Linked DNA regions of Homo sapiens: region 2 is linked to region 1. Evidence: promoter capture Hi-C in human tissues and cell types (Jung and others, 2019). All regions are on one chromosome and are shown on one strand. Each heading gives the region's core, a stretch centred on a gene start or on the middle of the fragment in contact. The rest is flanking DNA. Distances are from core to core; before and after follow the strand shown. Region 1 holds the start of SDAD1 (SDA1 domain containing 1). Region 2 holds the start of STBD1 (starch binding domain 1).

Region 1 (5,840 bases), core at 2,374-4,873:
CTACTTTCCATCCATATAGATGCACCTATTCTGGACATATTCTATTCATATACATTTCATATACATAGAATCATACTCCAATTGTTTTTAAACCTTCTGTAATCAGATTTTTGCACCCATTCCTCTTCCCAAACTGCTCAATGAATCAGGGTAGCCAATGACATCCATGTCGCTAATTTTTTTTTGTTTTGTTTTTCTGAGATGGAGTTTCATCTTGTTGCCCAGGCTAGGGTGCAGTGGCGCGATCTCGGCTCACTGCAACCTCCGCCTCCCAGGTTCAAGCAATTCTCCTGCCTCAGCCTCTGGAGTAGCTGGGATCACAGGTGCCCGCCACCACACCTGGCTAATTTTTGTATTTTTAGTAGAGATGGGGTTTCACCATGTTGGTCAGGCTGGTCTTGAACTCCTGACCTCAGGTGATTCACCCACCTTGGCCTCCCAAAGTGCTGAGACTACAGGTGTGAGCCACCGTGCCCGACCCCATGTTGCTAAATTTAATGGTGGTCAACTTTTGGTATTCATCTTATTTGACTCATCAGCATCTGATGTGCTTGGGTTCTCCCTCCCTTGGGAACATCTTCTATACTTGGCTTCCAGAACACCTCCTGGTTTTCCTCGAAACTTCACTGGCTGCTTTCTCAGTCCCTTTTTCCAGTTACTTAGAAACTCACTGGCCTTTAAATGTTGGGAATCCCCAGGGCTTTCTCTACCTACCCAATCCAGGATCTAATCACCCTTCTTACTACTTCCTGTTACCATCCTAGCACCACTCAACCCAGCATCATCTCTTGCTGTGGATAATTCCAATAGCTTCTTATGTGGTGTCTCTGCTTCTATCTTTGCCCTCCTACATACAGTCTATCCTCAAGTAACGGTGATCTTGTTCTCATATAGGGTGGTTCATGTATTCTTCTGCTCAAAACCCTGTAAAGGCTTCCATCTCATTGGGAGGTAGAATCCCAAATTCACCCCCTTTCCTCATTCCCTATTTGGAGCCACACTGGCCTTTATGTTCCTGAAATCTACCAGGCATACCTACCCCAAGGTCTTTATACCTTCTGTTCCTTCTGCCTAGATCATTCTTCCTAAACATATGCACAGCTCTCCCTCATGTCCTTCAGGTTTTCACTCAAAGATTACTATCTCAAGAAGACCTTCCCTAACTATCCAATTTAAAACTGCAATACCCATCTCACCCCCAACATACATAAGTACTTTCCTATTGTCTTTTTTTCACAGCACTTTTCATTATTTAACATACTATATTATTTGTTACTGTATATCACCCCCTACTAGAATGTCATTTAATGAGCATAGAATTTTTATCGGTACAGCTCAATATTATGTAGTCCCAGGGCCCAGCATTGTGCCTTACATATAGCAGGTAATCAACAGTATTTGTCAAATGAACGAACTTCAGGAAATGGCACTATCATCTACCTAGACATATAAATAAAAAACCTGGGTGATCCTTCATTCCTTCTTTTTTCCTTATCCCCCACATCCACTCCACCAGAAATCCCAAGGCTCTACTAGCTCTACCTCCACGTAGAACAGCACGAATCTTTGCCCATAATTCCAATGACACCACAATCCCTTGCTTGGTTATTCTGAGATCCATTATATTAGTTACCCTGCTTCCAGTGTTGCTCCTCTACAAGCCATTCCACATGTAACTTCCAGAGTAAATTCTTAAAAAAAATATGTCAGATCATGTCACTCTCCTGCTTAAAACTCTTCAATCACTCCCCGAGGCACTCAGAGTGAAATCTAAACTCGTTAACAGGGCCTAAGAGGCTCTGAATAAGCTGACCCCTGCCTGCATTTCCTACATCATCTTCCACTGCCCTCTTCTATGCTGACTACACTTTAGCTACACTGGCTTCTTCTCTGCTTTTTTTCCACCAGTAGCTTCTGCACTTTCTATTCCTTGTACCTAAAATGATGTTTACCTGCCTGGCTCAATATCATCATTGCAGAGCCACCTTCCCTGTTTACGGGGTCTAAATCAGAAGCCTCCAATTCTAACCTATTCCCATCCAGTTTTATTTTCTTCATAATCTCTACCATAATAAGTCTACACTCACTTGAATGTAAGTCCAAGAGAAGAATGCTTTCTTATCTGTCTTATTCATTACTGTACCCCAACGCCTACCTAGAATAACAACACACAGTAGTTATATGTGATTTTGCATATATACTTAAGTGAATTAAAGAAGTAGTTATTACCCCCTTCTTACATATTAAAATACCCACATAGGCTCAGCGATTAACCTGCTTCGGTTACACAACTGGTTAACAACAGTCAGCAGCAGGAGTTATCTAACGGAATTATATAGACTCTCAACTTACCACTTTCTTTGCGAATGGCTATACAATGCTTTAAGCATCTCAAAGCCTTGCCTATGTTACTTAACTTCTTGTACTTGTTTCCTACTCTTTATTTCCACTACCTTGATCCTTGGAGAGGCTTTCTCTACTGGTGACCTAAGCCACTGAGATTGCCATGTGTTAAAAAGCACTCATAAAATACATATATGTGAAAATTTAGGGGAGGAGGGAAGTGAGAAGGGCAATGAAAAAATAAGTAATTGTGTTAGCCACTGAACAAATCACAATCTGGTAGAAGCACAAACATGTAATTGCAGCAAATGCCTAGCAGAGATACCTGTTTAATGCCCGTCTGATAAATGAGTGTCTGAAGGAAGCACCTGTCAGATTAATATATCAAAAACCACTTTCGTTTTGTCGGTACTTGGTTCAAACACCCCTAATGTTCACAACTTACATGAGGTCAGTACACAAAGCCCATCACAATGAGGGCCTAATTTTTCAACCTAATCTTTTCCCGAAGCAAATTCTGACATCCGAGTCATGCCAGTCTCCGGTAAGTTTGAATCCTGGCTTAACTAAATATACTAAGCTCCCGAGTCTGTCCGTTGTGCTTGAGAAACCCCCCCCCCCCCTTTCCTGGCACAGTCCAGGGTACACAGCCTGCTCTCAGAAACGGACGTCAATCGAAAGCATTCTAACATACGATTCATCAAAGGTTACCGACTAATTCAAGTTTGGGATTTCTGAAAAGAGGCTGAGAAATCCGCGTGGAAGTTGGTGGTTGGGTGCGGCCCATTTCTCTCTCCACTTCCGTGCGGACGAAGAAAAATATCTTAAAACAAAATGAGGTTTTAAAGGTGTTTCAGCGGCAGCAGGGCAGGTAGAAAATCCAAAGGGGCAACAGATTTTCAAGAGGTGGGGAACGAACCCTAAGGCATGTCCCGTCCCCAACCCCTTCTCTCCTCTGGAGGGACCCCTGAACCTAACAGAAGAATAGGCGGCGAGCCTGGATCCCAGCCCCACTCCATGCTTTCCCGCACCGGCGTCTCAACCATCCACTATCCGGCCTCTAGCGTCTGCCGCGCCGCACTCCCACCTCCTCGATGTAGGCCGGCGGGTCTCGCTTGATTAGATTCTGTAACTGCGGCAGGTTGCTGGGAAGCTTGTTGTTGTTTCTGTTGGACATTTTGGCTGCAGACAGACTTCGCGGCGAGCAGTTTTAAAAAAACTCAGACGGCCGGCACCCCGCAATCCCTGCCAGCTGCAGCTTGGACTCGTGTTTCCGGGTATGACCGGAAATAGCGCATGGGACTCTAGGCAGGCGACACCTTAGCGGTTCCTAAAGCGAGCTATGCTACGGAAGCCTCAGAGTGTCAAAATTACTCTCGTTGCCAAAATACTCTGTGGTGTATTGGAGAGCCAGCCACCGCCGACCCGCCCCTCGCCCTTGGGCATATGCTACTACTTAATATTGCCTTGCGTTTCTGAAAGGATCTGAAATGTAAATTTTTTCACGTGTGTTAGCATGTATCGTCATTCCGACACCCATATGAAGCACATAAATGAGGATTAATCGTTTATTTTTAATCCCGCAGTCTAAAATTAGAAACTGACGCCTGTAATCCCAGCACTTTGGGAGGCCAAGGCGGGCCTGAGGTCGGGAGTTCGAGACCGGCCTGATCCACATGGAGAAACCCCGTCTCTACTAAAATTACAAAATTAGTCGAGCGTGGTGGCGCATGCCTGTAATCCCAGCTACTAGGGAGGCTGAGGCAGGAGAATCGCTTGAACACAGGAGGCGGAGATTGCGGTAAGCCGAGATTGCACCATTTCACTCCAGCCTGGGCAACAAGAGCGAAACTCCGTATAAAAAACAAAACAAAACAAAACAAAACTGAAAAGAACCGTGGCGCTAGATAACACTATTCCCTCTTAGGAGGAAAAAAGAGCAACGAGGGTCATATAAGTTAATGTGTATGATTTTAGATATGTTTTTATTTTGGTTTTGGTTGTTTCAACTTAGCGTGACCCATACAAGGGAAAAGAGGGCTGGATAAAATGTGATCATGTTGACCATTAATAAATGCAATTAATCGTTAAAATTCAACCATCGTTATAAGCTTTGTAAGCACTCCTCAGTCAGAGTTTTTAATTCAGATCCTGGTAATTCGAAGAGGAGAATACATTTCTACAATCTCAAGGTGTAAAAAATCAATAAGGGTTGAATGAATGAGGTAGGGTGTTGTGAATTAGAGAGAGAGAAAAAAAAACCTAATTACCCACCCTGTGCCAGGCACTATTCCAAGCACTTGTATTAACTTATTTAATCCTCAGAACAACCCTCTAAAATAGGTGCTATTGTTATCTACATTTTACAGAAGAGGAAACAAGCTCAGGGAAGTTGACTGCCTCAATTCATAGCCTGTGAGGAAGATGAGATTTCAATCTAGACAGTCTTGATTGTAACTACATGAGAAAAAACATAGCCTAACAGCTGGTAGCTGGTTGCTGGTCTGGCAAAATAGCCAGACAATAGGGTTCTGCTTAACCAAAGCAATTTTATAGAACGCCAACCTCATCTGTGACGATGATAAAATGAGCCCCAAACAAAACAACTCTGTAATCACACCTGCACACAAAATAAAGAATGCTTCACAAACCATGTTATTCAGCTGCTTTTGGAGAATGACTTATTTATTAATTATCAAATCAGTTACCTGTGAAGTTAAGAAATAAATGTCAGCAATAAATCTTTTTTAAAAAGCATAGATTTAAATTAAAATTTTTTGGCTAGGTTGTTTTAGTGAGGGCAAAAAAAGTATTCTCAAAACAAAATCTGGCTAAGTGTGGTAGCTCAAGCCTGTAATCCCAGAACTTTGGGAAGCCAAGGTGGGAGAACCACTTGAGCTGGGTAGTTCAAGACTAGCCTGGGCAATATAGTGAGACCCCATCTCTACCAAAAAGTTGAAAAATCAGCCAGGCATGGTGGCACAGGCTTGTGGTCCAAGCTACTGAGGAGGCTGAAGCAAAAGGGTTGCTTGAGCCCAGGAGGTTAAGGTTGCAGTGAAGCACTGCACACCAGCCTGGGCAATACAGTGAGACCCTGTCTCAAAAAAAAAAAAAAAAGAAAAAAGACTGCGTACAGGTACTTGAAAATGTCTGGTGTATTGAAACAATAGCCATAAGTTTGGTGTGACTAAAGGCTGGGAGGGCAGGGTGCAGCAGGGAAAGAGCTGAGAAGGTTATATTGTCCTGATATGAAAGGCTTTAATTGCTATTCTAAGGAGGGCATATAGGTCAGTTCATTTTACCTCCAGCAGCATGGAAGGCAGGATTTGTTTTTGATAAATGAGAACTCTAAGACTAAGAGTGGCTAACTGAATATATATTTTTCAGATGTTAAATAATTTGGGTATCTAAGGCCAACATCTCTGCTTTCATGTGAAATTCCATCCTTTATTTTTAAAATTATAATGTATTTATTTTATAGCTTTATTAAGATATAA
Region 2 (5,840 bases), core at 1,011-3,510, 320 kb after region 1:
CAGGCGGAAGAAGGAAGGGCGGTGGGGCAGGTCCCGGCTGCGCGGGGCAGTTGTGCGCACTTGGGTTCTTCACGCGGGACACACGTGGAACGCCGACCCCTGCGCCCCTGGCCGCTGGCAACTGGCAAGGCCGGGAACAGAAAGTGTAGGGACAGAAGAGCGCTGGAGTCTTCCCCGGGAGGGAGCCCGGGGCTGCAGCCCAGGGGCGGGGAGCGGGGCGGGGCTGGGAAAGTTGAGTACTGGTCGCTCAGGGCCGGGCTCCGCCGGAGTGCCCGGCGCAGAAACCGTAAAAGGCTGGAGCGGGCGGGGTAGGTGTGGCTCTGTGTGCGTGACCTGAGCCCCGGTCCCAGTCCCTGTAGTCTCCTGCGGCCGCGGCCTCTCAGCCATGGGCGCCGTCTGGTCCGCCCTGCTGGTTGGAGGGGGTCTGGCCGGAGCACTTTTCGTTTGGCTGCTGCGGGGCGGCCCTGGCGACACCGGGAAGGACGGGGATGCGGAGCAGGAGAAAGACGCCCCTCTTGGGGGAGCTGCGATTCCGGGAGGCCATCAGAGTGGCAGCAGCGGACTGAGCCCTGGACCTTCCGGGCAGGAGCTGGTCACCAAACCAGGTATTCTTCCCCCCGTGACTCCAGGGCACATCTGCCAGAGCTTTGAGGTTCATCGAGGAAGGGAGCAAAGAGACAAACCCACCTGGAGCTTTCCTAGGGGCCCATTCCTGCGGACGGGCTCTCCTAAGGGGACTGGGCCATCCCCACGCCCCTCGGTTTCCCAGGCTGGTTGGTACGCGCAGGCAGGTTTCTTGTCTGGTCCTCCAAGGGCCGCGCCCTTGCCGAGTCCCTCAGCGCCCGCGCCTGAGGACTTGGTCCTGCCCCTCCGGCGGGGATGAGCTCCTCCACTTGGCGGCGCTTGGTGCAGTGCGGGCGGCTGCAGTGGCGGCGCCCCTTCCCGGCCTTTGGAAAGGGGGGCTTAGGTTTAGGGGATCCTACAAGCCTCTTCGATCTCTGCCCAAGCAGGGACATTTTCTAAGTCCCAATCCGGGTAGTCTGACATCCTCCCATCGCACAGCCCATGAAGAGCTGGGTTTGGGAACACCCGAACTGCGGGCGCCTCCTGCTATCTGGATGCTTCTTTAGGAAGGCAAAGTTCAGGTTGGACTCTGGCCATGAAGGCTGTGGCTGAGGCCCTGGGGATGTGCCTTGGTCACCCCTTTCAGCACTGTCGGCAGTCCCCTCCACGCTGCCCCAGAATAGGGCCGGATAGTCATCCCTAGGAAGGGACTACTTAAATAGGGGACCCAACCCTGATGAGTAGAATTGACATCTGGGTTTAAATTTCTGTATTTTAGGGACCGTTTGCTAAGCAGAGAGCGAACACTGGCAGAAAAGCTTACCGTCCAGTGCCCTCCCTTGGCAAGCTGCCCATGCCTGGACAGAAGCCTAATGGTGAAAATGACATCTGTGAACTTTATTTTTAGCCCAGTGGTGTTCATGTGCAGCCATATGAAAATCTGCCCGTGTGCCTTTACTGTGATTGGTCTGGGATGCCTAGACAGTTCACTTATCTTTTTTCTGAAGACCAATCTCATGCTTTAGGTTGAAAAGTTGGGAATCCAGAATAATATTTGTTCATTCTCACTTCCAACTCCCACCATCACCGAGGCGGGCAAATCACAAGGTCAGGAGTTCGAGACCAGCCTGGCCAATATGGTGAAACCCTGTCTCTACTAAAAGTACAAAAATTAGCTGGGCGTGGTAGTAGGCGCCGGTAGTCCCAGCTACTTGGGAGGCTAAAGCAGGAGAATCGCTTGAACCCGGGAGACAGAGGTTGCAGTGAACCGAAATCGTACCACTGCACTCACTCCAGCCTGGGTGACAGAGCGAGACTCCATCTCAAAAAAAAAAAAAAAAAAGGGATAAAATGAAACAAGACTGTTGTCCCCATACCACCACCACCCCCACACCACATAAAACCACAGCTGTGCTGATTGTATGTATGATTTGGAGATTTCAATCTTGTAGGGAGCTATTTGGACTACCAATGGCATGGCCAAGAAGGAAACTGCATTTTTAGAGGACTTGGATTTTGTATTTTTAAGAACGTTTTTTAAAAAATGCTTACAATGGAAGGGGATACAAAACACCGTTTTGTTGGGGAGGTTCCTAACGCATATGGGATTGGCAAGGAGAAACCAGCCCCTTCCCCCAGTTCTCCCTCCACTCCTGCCCAGGGAAGCACTACTGTTCTCCGTATCTCCCCAAGGTGACAGCTCCTGCTGATCTGCCCGCAGGTCTGCGAGAGCCAATCCCTGCCCTGCATGCCTCCCCTGGGAGAACAAGTGTACTCTTCTGGTTTGTAACGTAGCCACGCAGCCCTTTGCCCCACAGCCTGGACAACATTCTTTGATGATAGGAGCCAAGCAACTTAACTTGGCTGCATGCCAGTATGGCCTGGACTGTGGAGACTGGGGACCATGGGGGGGTTACACGTCTGCCTCTACAGCTTACCACTTCATTTACACTTGTGCTGGCACACTGATACTCCTGGATGTCCCTTTTGTTGTCAGATATACATGTGTATTCTTAGAGCACAGTGTTGGGAGCATACTGGTTAATTAAGTAGTACTTGATTTTAATAGAGGGGGACTTTGTGAATTGCAGATTGATTAGTAGTAAAGCTTTCAGTAACTAAATCTATTTTCTCAGCCTGACTTTTTTCTTAAATGAACTACCTGACTCTATTACATTTTTCCTTTGATTTCTTAGAGCATCTTCAAGAAAGCAATGGACATTTGATTTCTAAGACCAAAGACCTTGGTAAACTGCAAGCAGCATCATGGAGATTGCAGAATCCTTCCAGGGAAGTCTGTGACAATTCAAGAGAACATGTTCCTTCTGGACAGTTTCCAGACACAGAAGCTCCAGCTACCTCTGAGACCAGTAACTCTAGGAGTTACTCTGAAGTTTCAAGAAATGAAAGCCTTGAATCTCCTATGGGAGAATGGGGATTCCAAAAAGGACAAGAGATATCTGCTAAAGCAGCTACATGTTTTGCAGAGAAGTTGCCTTCTAGCAACCTGCTCAAGAACAGAGCTAAAGAAGAAATGAGCCTCTCTGATTTGAACAGTCAGGACCGGGTTGACCACGAGGAGTGGGAAATGGTGCCTAGGCACTCATCTTGGGGGGATGTTGGTGTGGGTGGCAGTCTTAAGGCTCCAGTGTTAAACCTAAACCAGGGAATGGACAATGGAAGAAGCACTTTGGTGGAAGCAAGAGGTCAGCAAGTGCATGGGAAAATGGAAAGGGTAGCAGTGATGCCTGCAGGGTCTCAGCAAGTTAGTGTCAGGTTCCAGGTCCATTATGTCACAAGCACTGATGTGCAATTCATTGCAGTAACTGGAGACCATGAGTGTCTTGGGAGATGGAACACTTACATCCCACTCCACTATAACAAGGATGGGTTCTGGTCTCATTCCATTTTCCTGCCTGCAGATACAGTGGTGGAGTGGAAGTTTGTGTTGGTAGAGAATGGGGGAGTTACCCGCTGGGAAGAATGCAGCAATAGATTCCTAGAAACTGGCCATGAGGATAAAGTGGTTCACGCATGGTGGGGGATTCACTGATTCAGTTTGCAAAGTAATGGAGAAGCTGTAGAACAATGTGGAAGAGGCTGAGGTTGTGGAACACACTGAATAAAATAAAGGCAGTGTGACTCCAAATTCAGCCATCTGAATTGTTTAAATTTGCTAGTGGATTTTGTCTAATGTGCAGAAATATATATGTCTAATGTGCAGAAATATATATGTGTGTATGTGTGTATATATATGCACACACACACAGATAATGCTTCCAGTGAATGTGAACTTCTTTTCCCTGTGGCACTGATTGACAGACTTGTGCTGATCCATTATTACTTTAGGGCTTGATTCTCTTGGGGAGTGACTTGGCTAAGCTTCAGGTGTAAACTGTGGTCACGGAGCAAAAACATTAACCAGCTGCCCAGGGTTCAAGCTTGAGCCTTTAGGTGATCTTTAAACTATGGTAGTAAAATAAGCCTCACTCAAACATAGCTGACTTCCTATTGGTACAGCTTGAAAAGCACTTTTTACTACATACACATTTTATGCTTAAAAAGTTAACATGATACGAAACTGTGATTAGAAAATATCTGGTCTGGATGTGATTAGTAAGGATACAAGATAATGTTCTAAGACTGCCTAATGCTTTTTGTTTGATTTTCATCTGCCAGGCGTTGTTATGTGCTATGAGGGTAGCAAGTACGTCTTTGTCTTAATGATCTAAGGCTGGTGTAGAAACAAAGGGCCTAATGAGAACCAATCATCATGGAAGTCAGTTGCGGGGGCAGCCCATAAGGAAAGGGAAAGTGAGTGGGGTTGGGCATAGGCTGAGTGAGGTGGCCTGAATGACACCTCTTAGAGGACTGTGAAGTACAGGCACAGCCCGACTGCAGGGAGGGATGCACCCATCATTTACCCATGGGAGCATCTGTAGGACCATCTCTCTCCCACTTCTTCTCCCCTCCCCCACCGCATCTGGCCAGATGGACTGTCCTACAGCAATCGTTTCCATCTGTCACCCTCTTCCCTCTCCTTTCATACCAGTCACTATCTTGGGTAACAAATTTATACAGGACAGTGGTACAGAAATACATCTTTGCTCTGAGAATACAGCAAATATTAACTTAAATTATTATAACTGAACAAATAATAAAACCTGAATTTTAATATCTTCATTTGATGTCTGAATTATTTGTCTAAATTTTAGTATCACAATAGCCTAGATGTAAAATAAAATACAAATATTTTCCTCCACTAATAAGAGACATATACAGAAAAGCAAACATCAAAAGGTACAGAAGACATGAAGATTCTGTTTTTCTCCTCCCTTTGGAGAAAAAGTTGACAATATTTATTCTCAAAGTTCACCTTTGACTGGAGGGAAATTCAGCACGCCTGTACTTGAAAATGAATTCTTACATGTTAAAATAACTTTTAATAAGTTTAACATCTATCAGTGAAATAATGTTTAATCCTTTTAAACAGATGGTCTTTGCTGAAAAGAATAAACCCAACTGAAAATAGCATTAGAAAGTACTTAAAAGAACTATGTTTGACAGTTTTTGGCTCATAGCACTTTTATGTTAAATTCATGTATACTGTTTACAGACTTCATAATGAATTTTATATTGTACCAGTAAGCTCTGCAGAAGGCATTCACCATTACTGCATGGAATGCCCAAACATGCCCATGAGGAAAATTAAAGGTAAAACAATTTAAGTAAAAGTCTCTCTAGAATTCTATTACTGGCTATTTTATCACTACCTGGTAAAATTAAAATTAATCTTTCAGTAAAGCCAACTGATCTAAGAGAGAAATATTACACTTTATATTTTAAAAATTCACTTAAAATTGGATGTGCTTACAGTTCTAACATTGTCCTTGAGAGCAGAAGCGTGAGGATCTTCTGGTGAGAGCATGCATGCCCTACTCCATTTGTTGTCTGCATAGGTTAGGGCTGCTGCTAGCTGCTGTAATAGACACCATCCATTTAAGAAGGCTGCAGCACCAGAGGCCGATTTCTTGCTCATGTAACTGTCAGCAGTGAGTCTTCCTGGCAGGAGGGCAGCTCCCCTCCTTGCAGAGATTCAGTTACCCAGACTCCCTTCTGCCCTGTGGCTCTGCCATCCCCTATAATAACCCTCATGTCCTCTGCATCCAGCCCATGGAGGGGAAAATAAAGTTAGGAAGAACACCCATGCATGTTAACACTTTGACCTGAAAGTGCCACATATTGCTCTGTCCACATTCTGTTAATGAGAACCCTCA

What was found. The method cuts DNA at HindIII sites, captures the fragments that hold promoters and counts their contacts. A contact is called where the count stands out against the background at its distance.
Region 2: a fragment that was not itself captured here is called in contact with the fragment with the promoter of SDAD1 in region 1 in 1 of the 25 tissues and cell types used here (dorsolateral prefrontal cortex).

The regions. Positions count from the first base shown.
Region 1 is chr4:75,987,322-75,993,161 of GRCh38, forward strand. It overlaps SDAD1 (SDA1 domain containing 1), which reads right to left and starts at 3,624. Exons shown (of 22, transcript NM_018115.4): 1 at 3,431-3,624. The coding sequence starts at 3,520. The region is part of intron 1 of SDAD1-AS1 (SDAD1 antisense RNA 1); the gene reads left to right. The HindIII fragment of the contact is 8,316 bases long and covers 1-5,840 here.
Region 2 is chr4:76,306,385-76,312,224 of GRCh38, forward strand. FAM47E-STBD1 (FAM47E-STBD1 readthrough) reads left to right here. Exons shown (of 7, transcript NM_001242939.2): 7 at 2,760-4,746. The coding sequence ends at 2,789. STBD1 (starch binding domain 1) reads left to right here and starts at 349. Exons shown (of 2, transcript NM_003943.5): 1 at 349-605; 2 at 2,760-4,746. The coding sequence starts at 386. The coding sequence ends at 3,616. The HindIII fragment of the contact is 3,427 bases long and covers 548-3,974 here.